5 separate regions of the Homo sapiens genome follow, and all the other regions are linked to region 2. The links are contacts of gene promoters, found by promoter capture Hi-C in human tissues and cell types (Jung and others, 2019). All regions are on one chromosome and are shown on one strand. Each heading gives the region's core, a stretch centred on a gene start or on the middle of the fragment in contact. The rest is flanking DNA. Distances are from core to core; before and after follow the strand shown.

What was found. Contacts are between HindIII fragments. The study calls those that stand out against the background at their distance.
Region 1: a contact is called between a fragment that was not itself captured here and the fragment with the promoter of LSM12 in region 2, in 1 of the 25 tissues and cell types used here (aorta).
Region 3: a fragment that was not itself captured here is called in contact with the fragment with the promoter of LSM12 in region 2 in 2 of the 25 tissues and cell types used here (dorsolateral prefrontal cortex and lymphoblastoid cells).
Region 4: a contact is called between a fragment that was not itself captured here and the fragment with the promoter of LSM12 in region 2, in 2 of the 25 tissues and cell types used here (dorsolateral prefrontal cortex and spleen).
Region 5: a contact is called between the fragment with the promoter of ITGA2B here and the fragment with the promoter of LSM12 in region 2, in 1 of the 25 tissues and cell types used here (spleen).

The regions. Positions count from the first base shown.
Region 1 is chr17:44,531,516-44,534,282 of GRCh38, forward strand. No RefSeq gene overlaps it. Among named protein-coding and RNA genes, the nearest start is that of FZD2, 25 kb to the right of the region's middle. RefSeq lists enhancers at 1,899-2,403, 2,404-2,767. The HindIII fragment of the contact is 6,008 bases long and covers 1-2,767 here.
Region 2 is chr17:44,065,321-44,068,020 of GRCh38, forward strand. It overlaps LSM12 (LSM12 homolog), which reads right to left and starts at 1,351. Exons shown (of 5, transcript NM_001371445.1): 1 at 1,144-1,351. The coding sequence starts at 1,267. RefSeq lists silencers at 884-1,023, 1,314-1,433. The HindIII fragment of the contact is 14,418 bases long and covers 1-2,700 here.
Region 3 is chr17:43,749,585-43,752,447 of GRCh38, forward strand. No RefSeq gene overlaps it. Among named protein-coding and RNA genes, the nearest start is that of SOST, 7.8 kb to the right of the region's middle. The HindIII fragment of the contact is 3,915 bases long and covers 1-2,863 here.
Region 4 is chr17:44,469,826-44,472,525 of GRCh38, forward strand. All of the region lies in intron 2 of GPATCH8 (G-patch domain containing 8), which reads right to left. Among named protein-coding and RNA genes, the nearest start is that of GPATCH8, 32 kb to the right of the region's middle. The HindIII fragment of the contact is 3,729 bases long and covers 1-2,700 here.
Region 5 is chr17:44,388,229-44,390,928 of GRCh38, forward strand. ITGA2B (integrin subunit alpha 2b) reads right to left here and starts at 1,421. Exons shown (of 30, transcript NM_000419.5): 1 at 1,058-1,421. The coding sequence starts at 1,245. RefSeq lists an enhancer at 1,578-1,637. The HindIII fragment of the contact is 17,139 bases long and covers 1-2,681 here.

The DNA of each region.
Region 1 (2,767 bases), core at 179-2,678, 470 kb after region 2:
CATTCTTGGGCTTAAGTGAGACAATCCAACAGTGTGCTCGGCACAGTGCATGCCACATATCTAGTTCCTGACAGGGTGCAGGACACAGTACCCCAAAACATGGTACCTTGGCGATCACTCTTCTAGGTCCAAGCGATCCTCCCACCTCAGCCTCCAGAGGTCACACTGACCTTCTCTGGCCTTTCTGTGTGAGCACTATCTATAAAATAATTCTCTGACCTATCTCCTCTGAAATTAGGTCATAAGACCCACATGCGACAGATGTTCTGCACCATACCTGGGGAATGGTGGGGGAGGAGGTTGAAGGAAAGTCATATAGAGGCACACGCACACAAAAAGAACCTGAAAAGCTGGGCACGGTGGCTCATGCCTGTAATCCCAGCACTTTGGGAGGCTGAGGTGGGCAGATCATGAGGTCAGGAGTTGAAGACCAGCCTGGGCATCATGGTAAAACCCCGTCTCTACTTAAAATACAGAAATTAGCTGGGTGTGGTGGCGGGTGCTTGTAATCCCAGCTACTCAGGAGGCTGAGGCAAGAGAATTGCTTCAACCCGGGAGGTGGAGGTTGCAGTGAGCCGAGATCACGCCACTGCACTCCAGCCTGGGTGACAGAGCAAGACTCCGTCTCGGGAAAAAAAAAAAAAAGAACCTGAAAAGATAGGTCTTCCTGAGTTCTCTCCCAGTTTATTTCCATCAGATCATACCCCTTTTCCTCTAATCATGTTTTTCCACAGCTATCCATTTCTTTCTTCAGACTCAGCATAAAAATATACTATTTTCCCTAGGTCTTTGGTCTTCATTTCTGAAGCCTCCTATATCACATAAGACTTTGGTTAAGTAAATTTGTTATGCTTTTATTTTGTTAATCTGTCTTTTATTATAGTGGTGTCAGCTATGAACCTTGTGATGGGTGAAGAAAAGAGATGGCTTTTTCTCCCCGACATGCATGACAAACCAATAAATGTCAACCCTGACTTTTTTTTTGAGATGGAGGCTTGCTCTGTCACCCAGGCTGGAGTGCAGTGGTGCGATCTTGGCTCACTGCAACCTCAGCCTTCCAGGTTCCAGCAGTTCTCCTTCCTTGGCTTCCTGAGTAGCTGGGATTACAAGCACATGCCACCACGCCCAGCGAATTTTTTTGTATTTTTAGTAGAGACGGGGTTTCACCATGTTGGCCAGGCTGGTTTCGAACTCCTGACCTCAAGTGATCTGCCCGCCTTGGCCTCCCAAAGTGTTGGAATTACAGGCGTGAGCCACTGCGCCCAGCCAGCCCTGACTTAAAAAAAAAAAAAATTCTTTAAGCCAGGAGCTGTGGCTCATGCCTGTAATCTCAGCACTTTGGGAGGCTGAGGCAGGCAGATTGCTTGAGCTCAGGAGTTCGAGACCTGCCTGAACAGCATGGCAAAACCCTGTCCCTAAAAAAATACACAAATTAGCCAGGCATGGTGGCACACGCCTGTAGCTACTCGAGTGGCTAAGGCAGGAGGATTGCTTGAGCCAGGGAGGTCAAGGGTGCAGTGAGCCAAGATAATGCCACTTCACTTCAGCCTGGGCAATCAAGCAAGACCCTGTCTCAAAAAAAAAAAAAAAAATTAGCAGCGGTCTGAGAATCAGGAACAGAACTAGGAAGGTCTAGATTCATGGAGCACCCAGGACTTACCATACCTCATGTAAAGGGGAAAATGGCCTTGATTATTTCAGAGAAATAGTAGGAAGTGGTGGTTTTGTGTACACACTCTGCAGTCATACTGGCTCTTCTATGTCAGCTATGTCATGTTATGCTGGTGATTTAAATTTCTCTGTGCCTCAGTTTCCTCATCTGTAAAATAATATAAAATTGCACCTGGCACATCATAGGGCTATACAAGCATTAGCTGTTATTATTATTTGCCTCTAACCCACAGTCCTATAACTCCAAAGGATTACGAGATGAAATAAACTCAATGTAGTACACGTTCATCTACACCAACTGTGAGCAAATAAAGATGAACCAATAGGTGGCTACACTTCAAGACTTGCTCATTTTCTATAAACTTCCTATACTTGTTAAGGGATTCCAATCGTGTGATCCTCCTAGGGGTGCTTGGGAATGGGAAGGACCCTATCTGGCACAGACCTTTTCCCGCACATTTTGTCACCTGCTCCCACTCGTGCTGCTGCCCCAGGTCCCCATGTCCAGCAGAGGGCGCTGTGGCCCTAAAATGCAATCCTCAGATGCTCCCCTCTCCCGCGAGGCCTACCGCTAGCGAGGGAGGCCACCCGCCAGAGGCAGCGGGCCTGACTCCAATCAGACCCTTTGTCCCAACCAGCCCTTTTCTCCAAGCAATGAGCTTGGAGCTCCACATCACCCGCTGCTCGCTGGCTTTTCAAACCTCACGCTGCTCCTTGAAGCGTTTTCTGCAGGCTCCAGCCCTCTAGACCTTCCTTCTTTGAACCCCAGAAGCTTCGCTGCAGCAATGAATCATCCAGGCCTTATGCTGATGTTAGTTTCCAAATTCCGTGGCAGCCCAGCTGTAAACCTCCATCTCGCCCTACAGAGAGCCTCCCGCCACCCACAGCCTGCGCCTCTTCCATCCTATTCCAACTTCTCCAGACAAAACTCACTGGCCCCACCCAGCTCTCACTTCTGCCTCAATCGGCTGGAGGGCAAAGCACTATTTTTCTCATTTAATCTTCCAGCAAACGATTGTTTGGGGCAAGAGGCCTGGCATGGTGGCTCAGGCCTGTAATCCCAGCACTTTGGGAGGCAGGAGGATGGCTTAAGCCC
Region 2 (2,700 bases), core at 101-2,600:
ATCCCAGCTACTCCGGAGGCTGAGGCAGGAGAATCGCTCGAACCAGGGAGTCGGAGGTTGCAGTGAGCCGAGATTGCGCCACCGCACTCCATCCTAGCGACAGAGCGAGACTCCATCTTAAAAAAAAAAAAAAAAAAAAGATGCCATAAAAAATTACTCCTCCAAAAAAAAATTCCAATAAACCCACCTGTGGCTCACATAAAAAGGGAAGCCGTGGCACATTTATCCCAACAAGGAAGTGTTTCATTTCCAAGACTGAGTTTCCTGGAGTAATTCAGAAGTCACTTCCACCCCAAAGAAGCAGGCCACCTTTTCCAATCAGTTTAACATTGCTACTTTCAAAAGGGAGGCTGCTACTACGTAAAAGGACTCCATGTGCTGGACTGATCAAGGCAGCATGAGAACTTCACTCTTTCACCTGTAACTCACACATCCCCAAACCACATAAGCCCCTGGCAAGCCCTCTCTGGAACAGGTTTCCAGTGCAAACATCCCCTAAACAGCAACTTCCAAATGACCGAGAAGCCTAAAAATCAGCACAGCCCCCCCACCACACATACACACGCATCAGCGAAACAAGCCACTATCCCTAGCTCAGATACAAACTCTGCCCTGAACTTACTCTCCCCCAAAACAGGCAAGGACCAATTTGGTCACCATCCCACCGCCCTTCCTTGGACGAAATCCCATCAGTGCACATGCCCTCCTAAATTCCATACCTTTGCCCTACCAGCAGTTCCTTACCCTAAACACCCCTCCCCATAATATTTCACCCGCCCCTCCTTTCCATCCGGGCTCCAATCCATCAGCCCCCTCCCACCACCACCCCCTCTCCTAATTACTGTGTCCCCTCTCATAACGTTCCCCCCAAAAAGCCATCCCCGTGTCAAGCCCTCCTCCACCCACTGATCCTCGGTAAAGCCCCAGCTCCCGCAAAGAGAGAGAGACAGGATCCCCAAAGCTGACCGAAGGGCCCGCGGGAGGGGGAGGGGAGCTCAGGGCCGTGCGCATGCGCCCCGGGCGCCGCGGTAGCCGGTCGCCCCTAGGCCCGGAGAGAGCCCCAGCCGCCGCCGTCGTCCCCCACCCCCCGACCACCGCACCTACACGCCGGCCCGGACTCGGGCTTCACGCAGGGAAGGATACTTAAAGCCAGCATTTTGGATTGGTAGTCAAAGGCTACCACCTCGCCCTGCAGCCGCTGCTCCTGGCACGTCCGGCACGACACCTGGCTCCCAACGCTGAAGTACTCGCCCGGAGGAGCCGCCATCTTGGGAGTGCAGCCGCGGCCGGCGGCGGCGGCGGCAGCAGCGGGCGAAAGCCGGGCCCCCAGTGAGCGCCGCGACGCGACGGCGCGCACGGAGCGTGCTTGCGTCACACGCCGGGGCGTGGCCTGGCGCTGGTTGGGGCGGGATCCTAGGTGGAGTGGGAAAGAAGAGGAAATAAAGGGGAATCTGAAAAGTATTTGTATAGCTGCGTCCGCTCGGTTAAGTGCTTGTAGAGTCCATTTTAGAAGTTAAGGATAAATGACCTACGTGGAATGAAAAGGGGAAAGAGGAGGGAGCTGCAGTCTCCATTATATGCACACCTTCCACACAAGAGTTTAATGAATGAATTTTATAAAATATGTTAACCCCATTTTGCATATGAGGAATCAGAGCCTCAGAGGACTTAACGATACTTGGACAAGATGATTATAAGGCTGGGAGCGGTGGCTCACGCCTGTAATCCCAGCACTTTGGGAGGCCGAGGCGGGTGGATCACCTGAGGTCAGGGGTTCGAGACCAGCCTGGCCAACATGGTGAAACCCCGTCTCTACTAAAAATACAAAAATTAGCCGGGTACGGTGGCGCGTGCCTGTAATCCCAGCTACTAGGGGGACTGAGGCTGGAGGATCTCTTGAACCTGGAAGGCGGAGGTTGCACTGAGCCAAGATTGTGCCACTGCACTCTAGCCTGGGCAACAGAGCGAGACTCTGTCTCAAAACAAACAAACAAACAAAAAAAGATGATTATAACTACTGAGTGATAGTGGAAAGAACATTGGCTGTGGAGTTAGATAAGCTGGAACCAGAATCCGAGGTCAGCCTCTTACTAAATCACCTGACCTTGAGCAAGCAAATTACCTGATCCTGTTTCTTCATAGGCATTTGTATTGTCACTTCTTGAGCATCTAACAGCCCTTTGAGGTAGGAATCAATGTCCTCCTTTTACATAAACTAAGTTTTAGACTAAACTTGTCCACGGTTCCACAACTAGCAAAAACAGTCTGCCTATTTCCAAGGACGGTGCTATTTACTGCTATACTCTGTTACATAATAATACCTACCTCATAGTTAGGAGGTTTAAATGCGGTAACGGGTATAAGTGCATGGCATGTACTAGGTCTTTAATAAATGGTAGTTCCCCCTTAGTCACCCATCACTCTTAGAAGTCAAGACACTTCCCCTTCTCCCTTTTTGCCCTCTCTCCCAGAAAGCCAGGCAAAAGGCAGGAATGAGGAGCAGCGGATAGTGACAAAAAGGGGCTTGGAGGAGGGGTTTTGCGCCCCTGCCCTTGAATGTCCGTCTGATGTACAAAACAGTCGTTTTCTTAATCTTATGCAAAGGACTATGAGCGTGCATTTTCAAGCCCTACTACCACCAATGGCTGTCGCTAACCCACCCACCGCTCACTATAGAAATTTTGGATCCTCGCTTCATGT
Region 3 (2,863 bases), core at 283-2,782, 320 kb before region 2:
TCCCAGTGCACACACCCCCAGATCCTTGTGTGGCTCCCTCTCCCACCACATTTTGGTCTTAGCTCAAATGCCACCTCCTCAGAAATGCCTGGCCTGGCCGCCTTCAGGGCTGTCTATATGCTCACCAGCTTTAATTTTCTTTCGAGAACTTTCCATTCCCGGACATTGTACTAAATGTTTATTTGTTATCCGTCCATTATCCATCTCCTTGCCAGCACTCCCTGTGAGCTCCATGAGGCTCCAAGATTACAACCACATGCCCAGAGCTAGGGTGGTGCCTGGCTCACAGCTGGCATCCAGTCAGTAGCAATGGAATGAATGAATGATCACCCTCTCTTCCTCTCCATCCCCACCCTCTCCTTTTTCACTTCCTCTCCCGCCCCATCTCCCCTGCCTCCGCCTTAAATCTGCTGGCATGACCAGCCCTCAGGAAGTTGTCAGGCAGGGGAGGTGTGTGCTCTGCACCCCTCTCCTTCCATCTCTCTTTCCCACCTCCCTTATGGGTACCTATCTCTCCTACCTGCAGCTGCTCGCTGCCAGCTCTGGCCCTCTTGGTGGGCAGAAGCTTAGGCACCCCAGACAATTGTAGGGAAATTGGGCATTGGAGGGCAGCCGTAAGAAAGGATTCAGTACCTGCCAAGGAATGATGAATTTAGTCTCTCACCCATGAACAGGCATGCACTTTCAGGGCTCAGGTTCGGTCTCTAAAGCAGAACGTCATTCAGGGCACCCTTCAGTACCCATGACCCAGTGTCTCGCCTTTCCTGCAGGAGTCGGTGCTGCCACTATGGTGACTCAGCCCCTCTCTTCTCCTCATTCATTACCTGGGTTCTTCCTGCAGTGATTGACAGTATCCTTTTTCTTTTGAGATGAAGTCTTGCTCTGTTGCCAGGGCTGGAGGGCAGTGGCACAATCTTGGCTCACTGCAACCTCTGCCTCCTGGGTTCAAGCCATTCTCCTGTCTCAGCCTCCCGAGTACCTGGGATTACAGGTGCATGCCACCATGCCTTGCTAATTTTTGTATTTTTAGTAAAGATGGGGTTTTGCCATGCTGGCCAGGCCAGTCTCTAACTCGTGACCTCAGGTGATCCACCCGCCTTGACGTCCCAAAGTACTGGGATTACAGGTGTGAGCCACCACGCCCAGCAAGTTGCAGCTCTTAATAGCATGGGCACCATATAATTTACTGCCCAGATTGGGTCATTTTTTAGAGTAGAAGTGGGAGCTGTTAATAATTACGCTTGGCCTACAGGTGTAAACGAGACCACCCTGGGCAAACCAGGCACATGGTCGCATTGACTAAGAGGAATATTCCCCTGCCTCCTGCATCTCCAGCCACAAAAGGAGCCTCAGCTGTTGGTCAAAGCTGCCCAATAGCTGAGCCCTTGCCTGCCCTTGGACAAGGGAGAAGACAGAGGGCAGGTTCCAAGAATGGGGTGGGGATGTGGCAGGAAGGACGGTGCAGGCCCCAGAGCTATAATCAATGATCTGGGAGCCGGGTTGTGGAGCACAGGGCTGTGTCAAGGAGCAGGTGGGAGGTGGGTGGGTGTGGGACATGGCACCAGCTTTTGGTGTCTGTGACTCTGAACTTGGCTTACTCGCAGGTGGCTTCTGCAGGCTCTCCACCCTCCCAGCTGCGTAAGTCCTGCCTGATTCAAGGAAAACAGGGAATTTTGGGGTCCTGTGGCTCCTCCAACGTTCTTTTCCTTTACCTCCTTGTGTAAATGTGGCCTGATTTGTACTTGGAGCATAAGTAGACCCCTACAGAGCGTGTGTGTGTGTCTGTGTGTGTGTGTGAGAGAGAGAGAGAGAGAGTGAGAGAGAGAGAGACAGAGAGAGAGAAAGGGACCTATTTCCTTCTATCCCTCTGTCTGTCTTACTCTCAGACTATTAATACAAGCCCTGAGTCTGGCTGTACCCCCAGAACATGTGCCCCGCCCCCTACAACAAAATGCTGCCCCTCCCAGCTAGGTCTGTTGTTTGTTCCTTTTCTGATTGGCGCCAGGCTTATAGACCCCATGTAGGTAGAATATAACTTTCCATAAATAACCTCTAACCCGACCTACAATTTAGCCTTCAGGTTTTTTTCCCCCTCGTGGTAATGGGATTGCAGCCTGGGCTGATCCATCCTGTATCTTCAGGTCCCAGAAAGCAGACCCTAGGTTTGGACATTGCTTGGAATTCCTGGTACCCCCATGTTGCCTTGCACATGGCAAGGACTCGGTACATGTTGAGGAATGGTGGATTCTCTTCTACCCATGAGCAGCCATGCACTTGCAGTCTTTGCTTGGGCTATGCCTTCTGCCTAGAAGCCCCCTTCTCCACCTGGAAAATCTCTAAGCAGCACCCACTTTGTGAAGCTTTCCCTAACCACTATCCCTCATCCCCTCCACAGAGCAAATTACTCCTATCTTGGATTCCCATAACACTTGGTACAAAACAGTGTGACCTGGTTATTGCCCATGTGCCCACCAGGTTCTAAGCAGCTCAAGTGAGGGGTAGGGCAAGGAACTGAGCCCAAGTATGGCTGTGGGCAAAACATTTAACCCCTTGGTGCTTCAGTCTCCTCAGATTCAAACACCAACCTGGGGCTGGGTGTGGTGGCTCACGCCTGTAATCCCAGCACTTTGGGAGGCCGAGGCAGGCAGATCACTTGAGGTCAAGAGTTCGAGACTAGCCTGGCCAACATGGTGAAACCCCGTCTCTATCAAAAATACAAAAATTAGCCAGGCGTGGTGGCACGCACCTGTAATCCCAGCTACTCTGGAGGCTGAGGCAGGAGAATCACTTGAATCCGGGAAGGCAGAAGTTGCAGTAAGCCGAGATCGTGACACTGCACTCCAGCCTGGGCAATAGAGCGAGA
Region 4 (2,700 bases), core at 48-2,547, 400 kb after region 2:
TTATTTCTAGTGCAGTCCACATATGGTCACTGCTAAATGTCAAATCAGCAGTCTTATAAAGAATTACAGTTTGGAACTAGTGGAGTCCACAGATCTAGACAGATATGCAACATCACAAAACCCAATTATACATATACTTCCAAATCCTTAAGATGCGCAAACTAAACATCAGCAACTGGAGTTTGAAGCTTACACTACATTTTTAAACCTATTAGGTCATCCTGACAACCATAAAGAAAGAATTTTAATCAGTCAGGTAGAGCAAGGACCGACTAGCGGCTGATGGGTAGTTGCACTTCCAACCACAACAGTAACAACATGTTTTAAGTCTATGATGCATGCATTCTGCCTTCTATATAGCTTAAAGTCATTCTCCCATCTGATCCCTCATCTTTTTTTGTTTGTTTGTTTTTGGAGATCGAGTCTCGCTCTGTCACCCAGGCTGGAGTGCAGTGGCACGATCTTGGGTTCAAGCGATTCTCCTGCCTCAGCCTCCTGAGTAGCTGGGACTACAGGCGTGTGCCACCACACCCGGCTAAGTTTTGTATTTTTAGTAGACATGGGGTTTCACCGTGTTAGCCAGAATGGTCTATCTCCTGACCCTGTGATCCACCCACCTCGGCCTCCCAAAGTGCTGGGATTATAGGTGTGAGCCACTGCACCCAGCGCTTTTTTTTTTTTTTTTTTTTGAGACGGAGTCTCGCTCTGTCACCCAGGCTGGAGTACAGTGGCGTGATCTCGACTCACTGCAACCTCTGCCTCCCAGGTTCAAGCAATCCTCCTGCCTCAGCCTCCTGAGTAGCTGGGTAATCCCAGCACATGCACAGGCATGTGCCACCACGTCTGGCTACTTTTTGTATTTTTAGTAGAGACAGGGTTTCACCATGTTGGTCAGGCTGTTCTCGAACTCCTGACCTCGTCATCTGCCCGCCTCAGCATCCCAAAGTGCTGGGATTACAGGCGTGAGCCCCTGCGCCCAATTCCTCATCTTCTAACTATGATAAAGGTCATAAAGGACCGTGTATCCTAAAAAACACCAATTAATTCTTCTGTGATTGAATCCTAGACGGAGCTATGGCTTTAGATCAAGCTTTGTTTTGTAAATATTTTGTCTTTAAGTAAGTGGAGGTTATAATTATAACATTTGAGACCTAAATATCTCATAAAGCAATAACAATTTTTAAAATTCAAATTCAAAGCTTCTCGTAATAGGGATAAAATGTTCACACTTTTCAACTTGTTTTTAATAGAGATAATCAAGTTGTTTAGCAATTCTCATATAATTTTCTTAAAAAGATATTTCATTCTTGAGGAAAAATCTCATTGAAAGATATCTGGTTGGTTGAAGCAAATAAGGGAAAATTAAACTTCAAAAAATATTATTAAATGCTTTACAAATACTGGATTTTGATATATTTTCAACATTTACCTAATAAAATTGAAATACCAATATCTCACTAACAAATCTAAGCTTCGGAAGTTCACTAAAAGCATAATACATTATTGCATCTTCATGTCTCATTTCCCATCTTGCTGGTTTGCATCAAATTTAGCCTACTACAAAATAAAAAGACCTTAATCCTATACTCACAATAACCCTTCACACAGGCATATTCTTGGCACAAACCTGTGCAGAGACCTCCACGGTTACCAGCTGCTGCAGATTACCTTTGGTTAAAAAAAAATGACTAGACCTTTAGCTCCTGCAATGATCTGTAGACTCCCAAAGCTGCATATTTTCAGCCACTTTTGAGTTGCATGCTGTAGCAAAACAGTCAGCACCTCTCAATAGATATTGCTGCAGAGAAAGATTTTAATTCAGCACTCTTTCTGTGTTAGAAGTAACACCATTTTCCCCTAAAAACAAAACAGCTTAATATAGCCAGCCAGCCATGTAATTAAATATTTACTTATTATTTAGTGGGCATTCCTCAGGTGATAAGGGACTTCTTTTGTTTGGTGGGAGGGAGGGAACACTACCTACTTTGATGCCAATCACTGTAGGAGTTTCTCTTAAAACTTAAAATTTTCTGTGACCAAAAAAAGTAAAAAAAAAAAAAAAAAGTTGAAAAAAGAGAAAAACACTTAAAATTTTACTCACAAATGATCAGGCAACAGAAATAAGATCCCTCTTATCTTGTGTGTCAATACTTCTTTTTTTTTTTCTTATTTTTTCTTGCATCTTTGTTTATTCTCCCAGATCCTGTGCCCTACTTCTACCTAATACAATGTAGGCCATGAAGTTCTCTCCTACAACCTAAACTATCTCATCACAAATAATGCATATATTTATCTTTCAGAAGTAAATTTTCATTAGAAGTGTAATTACTAATATACATTTCTGAACATTCATTTATTTAAAAAAATTAAATATCCAGCCTGAGTACTATATACTATTTGCTATTTTAAGTGAAGAAGGTAGCACTACTTAATAAATAAGGCATATTATCAATTCTACTCCCACTGAATGAGATTATTCAACAATGATTACTCAATTAGACTGCCTTCTGATACTGTTCTCGCTATATGTGGCAGAAAAAGTCCTGGACATTATGAGAGGTAAAATAGCATTAGCCTCATGTGCCATAGGAATGAAATTTCCAAAAATATTTCAGTGTAGCCCTCTAGGCTTAAAATATGTTAAATATCATTTAATTTAGTGGTTTAAAAAATATTTGTTAAGTATCGTAATAATGAATA
Region 5 (2,700 bases), core at 171-2,670, 320 kb after region 2:
TCAAATATTTATAATGTTGATGGAGATGAGGGAAATGGAACAGAAATGCAAGGTGCGGGAGGGTAGACAACTTTAGTTCTGCAAATCAATTTAGGACATGTGCTCCTCTCCACATTTCCTTTCTTTTTTTTTTTTTTTTTTTTTTGAGACAGAGTTTCGCTCTCGTTGCCCAGGCTGGAGTGCAATGGCATGATCTCGGCTCACCACAACCTCTGCCTCTCAGGTTCAAACGATTCTCCTGCCTCAGCCTCCCGAGTAGCTGGGATTACAAGCATGCGGCACCACGCCCGGCTAATTTTTTTTTTTTTGAGACGGAGTGTCACTCTGTCACCCAGGCTGGAGTGCAGTGGCATGATCTCAGCTCACTGCAACCTCCACCTCCCGGGTTCAAGTGATTCTCCTACCTCAGCCTCCCGAGTAGCTGGGACTACAGGAGTGTGCCACCACGCTCAGCTAATTTTTGTATTTTTAATAGAGACAGGGTTTCACCATATTGGCCAGGCTGGTCTTGAACTCCTGACCTCATGATCTGCCCACCTCTGCCTCCCAAAGTGCTGGGATTGCAGGTGTGAGCCACTGTGCCTGGTCTCTTTTTTTTTTTTTTTTTTGTATTTTTAGTAGAGACGGGGTTTCTCCATGTTGGTCAGGCTGGTCTCGAATTCTCGACCTCAGGTGATCTGCCCGCCTCGGCCTCCCAAAGTGCTGGGATTACAGGCATGAGCCACCGCGCCCGGCCTCCTCTCTGCATTTCAAGGTGTTGAGGGTGGAGTGGTTCATACAACTGACCCTTGGGGAAAAAATAAAGCATCAACTCTTGTCTTCCCTTTGTTCTTGCTGTAGTTTTCAGTGCCCATCAGCCCACATGTGCCCTGCCCTTATACCTTCACCTGAGCCAGTCCCCTGGACCCCAACATTCTTGACAAGAAATCAACCTGAATAGGCCCCACAAGTCACCTTGCTCAACTGCTATCGCAAATGGGAAACTCGAAGCCCCCAGAAGCAGTGATGGGGAGGGGTCCTGCTCTCTCCCAATACCCCAACTTCCCTTACGGCTCACCTCCCATGGCTGTCCTTGTGGAAGTCCAGTGAAAATCCAAACTGGCTGCCATTGGGGCCTGCATAGAAGGTGAGCTGCACTGGGTCCAGGTTCAAGGCCCAGGCTGGAGGGGCAGCACAAGGTCCCAAGAGCAGCAGCACCCACTCCAGAAGCCAGAGGGCTTGCAGTGGACACAAAGCTCTGGCCATCTTCCTTCTTCCACAACCTCCCAGGCAGGAATGGGCCAGCTCCTCCTCCTTCCCTTCAGATTCCTCCACAGGAAGTCTTTTCTTATCAAACTGGAACCCCAAGTAACTTGCTGAGCAACGGGCAGAGCAAAGGGCTATAGCCCCTGGACTCATGGTGGCTAGAATTGCCAGGAAGTGGGTGAGGCCACCCAGAGGGTGGATGCTCATGGCTGAAAGCCATGACTCCTCCCCTTTCCTGAGAATAGTTTATTACCATGTCCTATTGGTTCTGCCTATCAATGATGTCTCTTGAATCTTTACCCCATCTCTACTACCACCGTGCTAGTCCAAGCCACCATCACTTTCTGCTTGGGATAGCGTGATTGTGAACTGGTCCATACTTGTCTACTCTAGCCTACAGTTCTAATCTCCTCCCTTCCCCCATCTGGCTGTACAGCTGTGGTGCTTTGTGACTTGGCCACAGGTCGGGGAAGGAGAAGGAAGCTGCTGCCCCCGATAAAACCTGAGGCTTCTGTATCTTTTTGGATATGGCATTTACCCACTTCCTCCTTCTAGGACCTTGGGCGGCCTCAACCAGCCATATTGGTGCAGCAGCTTCCTCACTCCTCCTCCGTCTTGAGCCAAGCTTTAGTGTGGCCACAGCAGTGCAGTCAGTGCTGGGGACAGGGTGGTGAATGGACCTTGGTCTAGGTGGCAAGGAGATTGGGGATAAAGTGGAGTTATTCCAGGGAATTTTGACTCACAGTTTCTGAGATTATGCATTAGCTGTTCAGTTGAAGGTAGGCCCTCAATCCTTTTTGGGTGATGGAGCTCTTTAACCATTAAGACTTGATTCTGGTTGGGGGCTTTGCCTAGGGGAGCCTTCCCTGACTCCTCAGGCTGGCCGCGTGGGCTAACACACGTAGGCACAGCATTGAGCACACTGTTTACTCTTGGTCCGTTCACAGGATTGTGTAAATGAGTCCCTTGGGAGCAAGGCTCCTTGCTACAGCCCTAGAGACTACCCAAGAGTCCAATGTGTAGTACGTGTATTGCTGAAAGACTGGATGGAAACACACACTAAGGATGGAAGATGCAAACATAGGGTGACAAAGTGAAGGGATGAGTTTTGAGCAGAAAGGCAAAGTCATTTTCTCTCGGTAAGCGGAAGAGGAGGAGTGCCAAGTCTTACTGGCACTCATGCCTTCCCAAAAAAGCAGGTTCTCAGGAAGATTTAAGAGGTCCGCTAGGGGTAACCATAGCCACATTTTCCTTTTGATTTCTATTTTCTGATCAAACTTAACCATTGCCGTATCCTGCTCAACCACCCTGTACCATTTTGAAGTCCCCTCGTAATTTACTACCTCAGCCTAGAGTTAAGAATCTTATCCTTTATAGGACAGGAAGCTAAAAGCCTGAACTTTGGTCTGGGCCTTCTTCATTGCTGAGTTCCCAGTGTCAAGTACATGGGAGGCG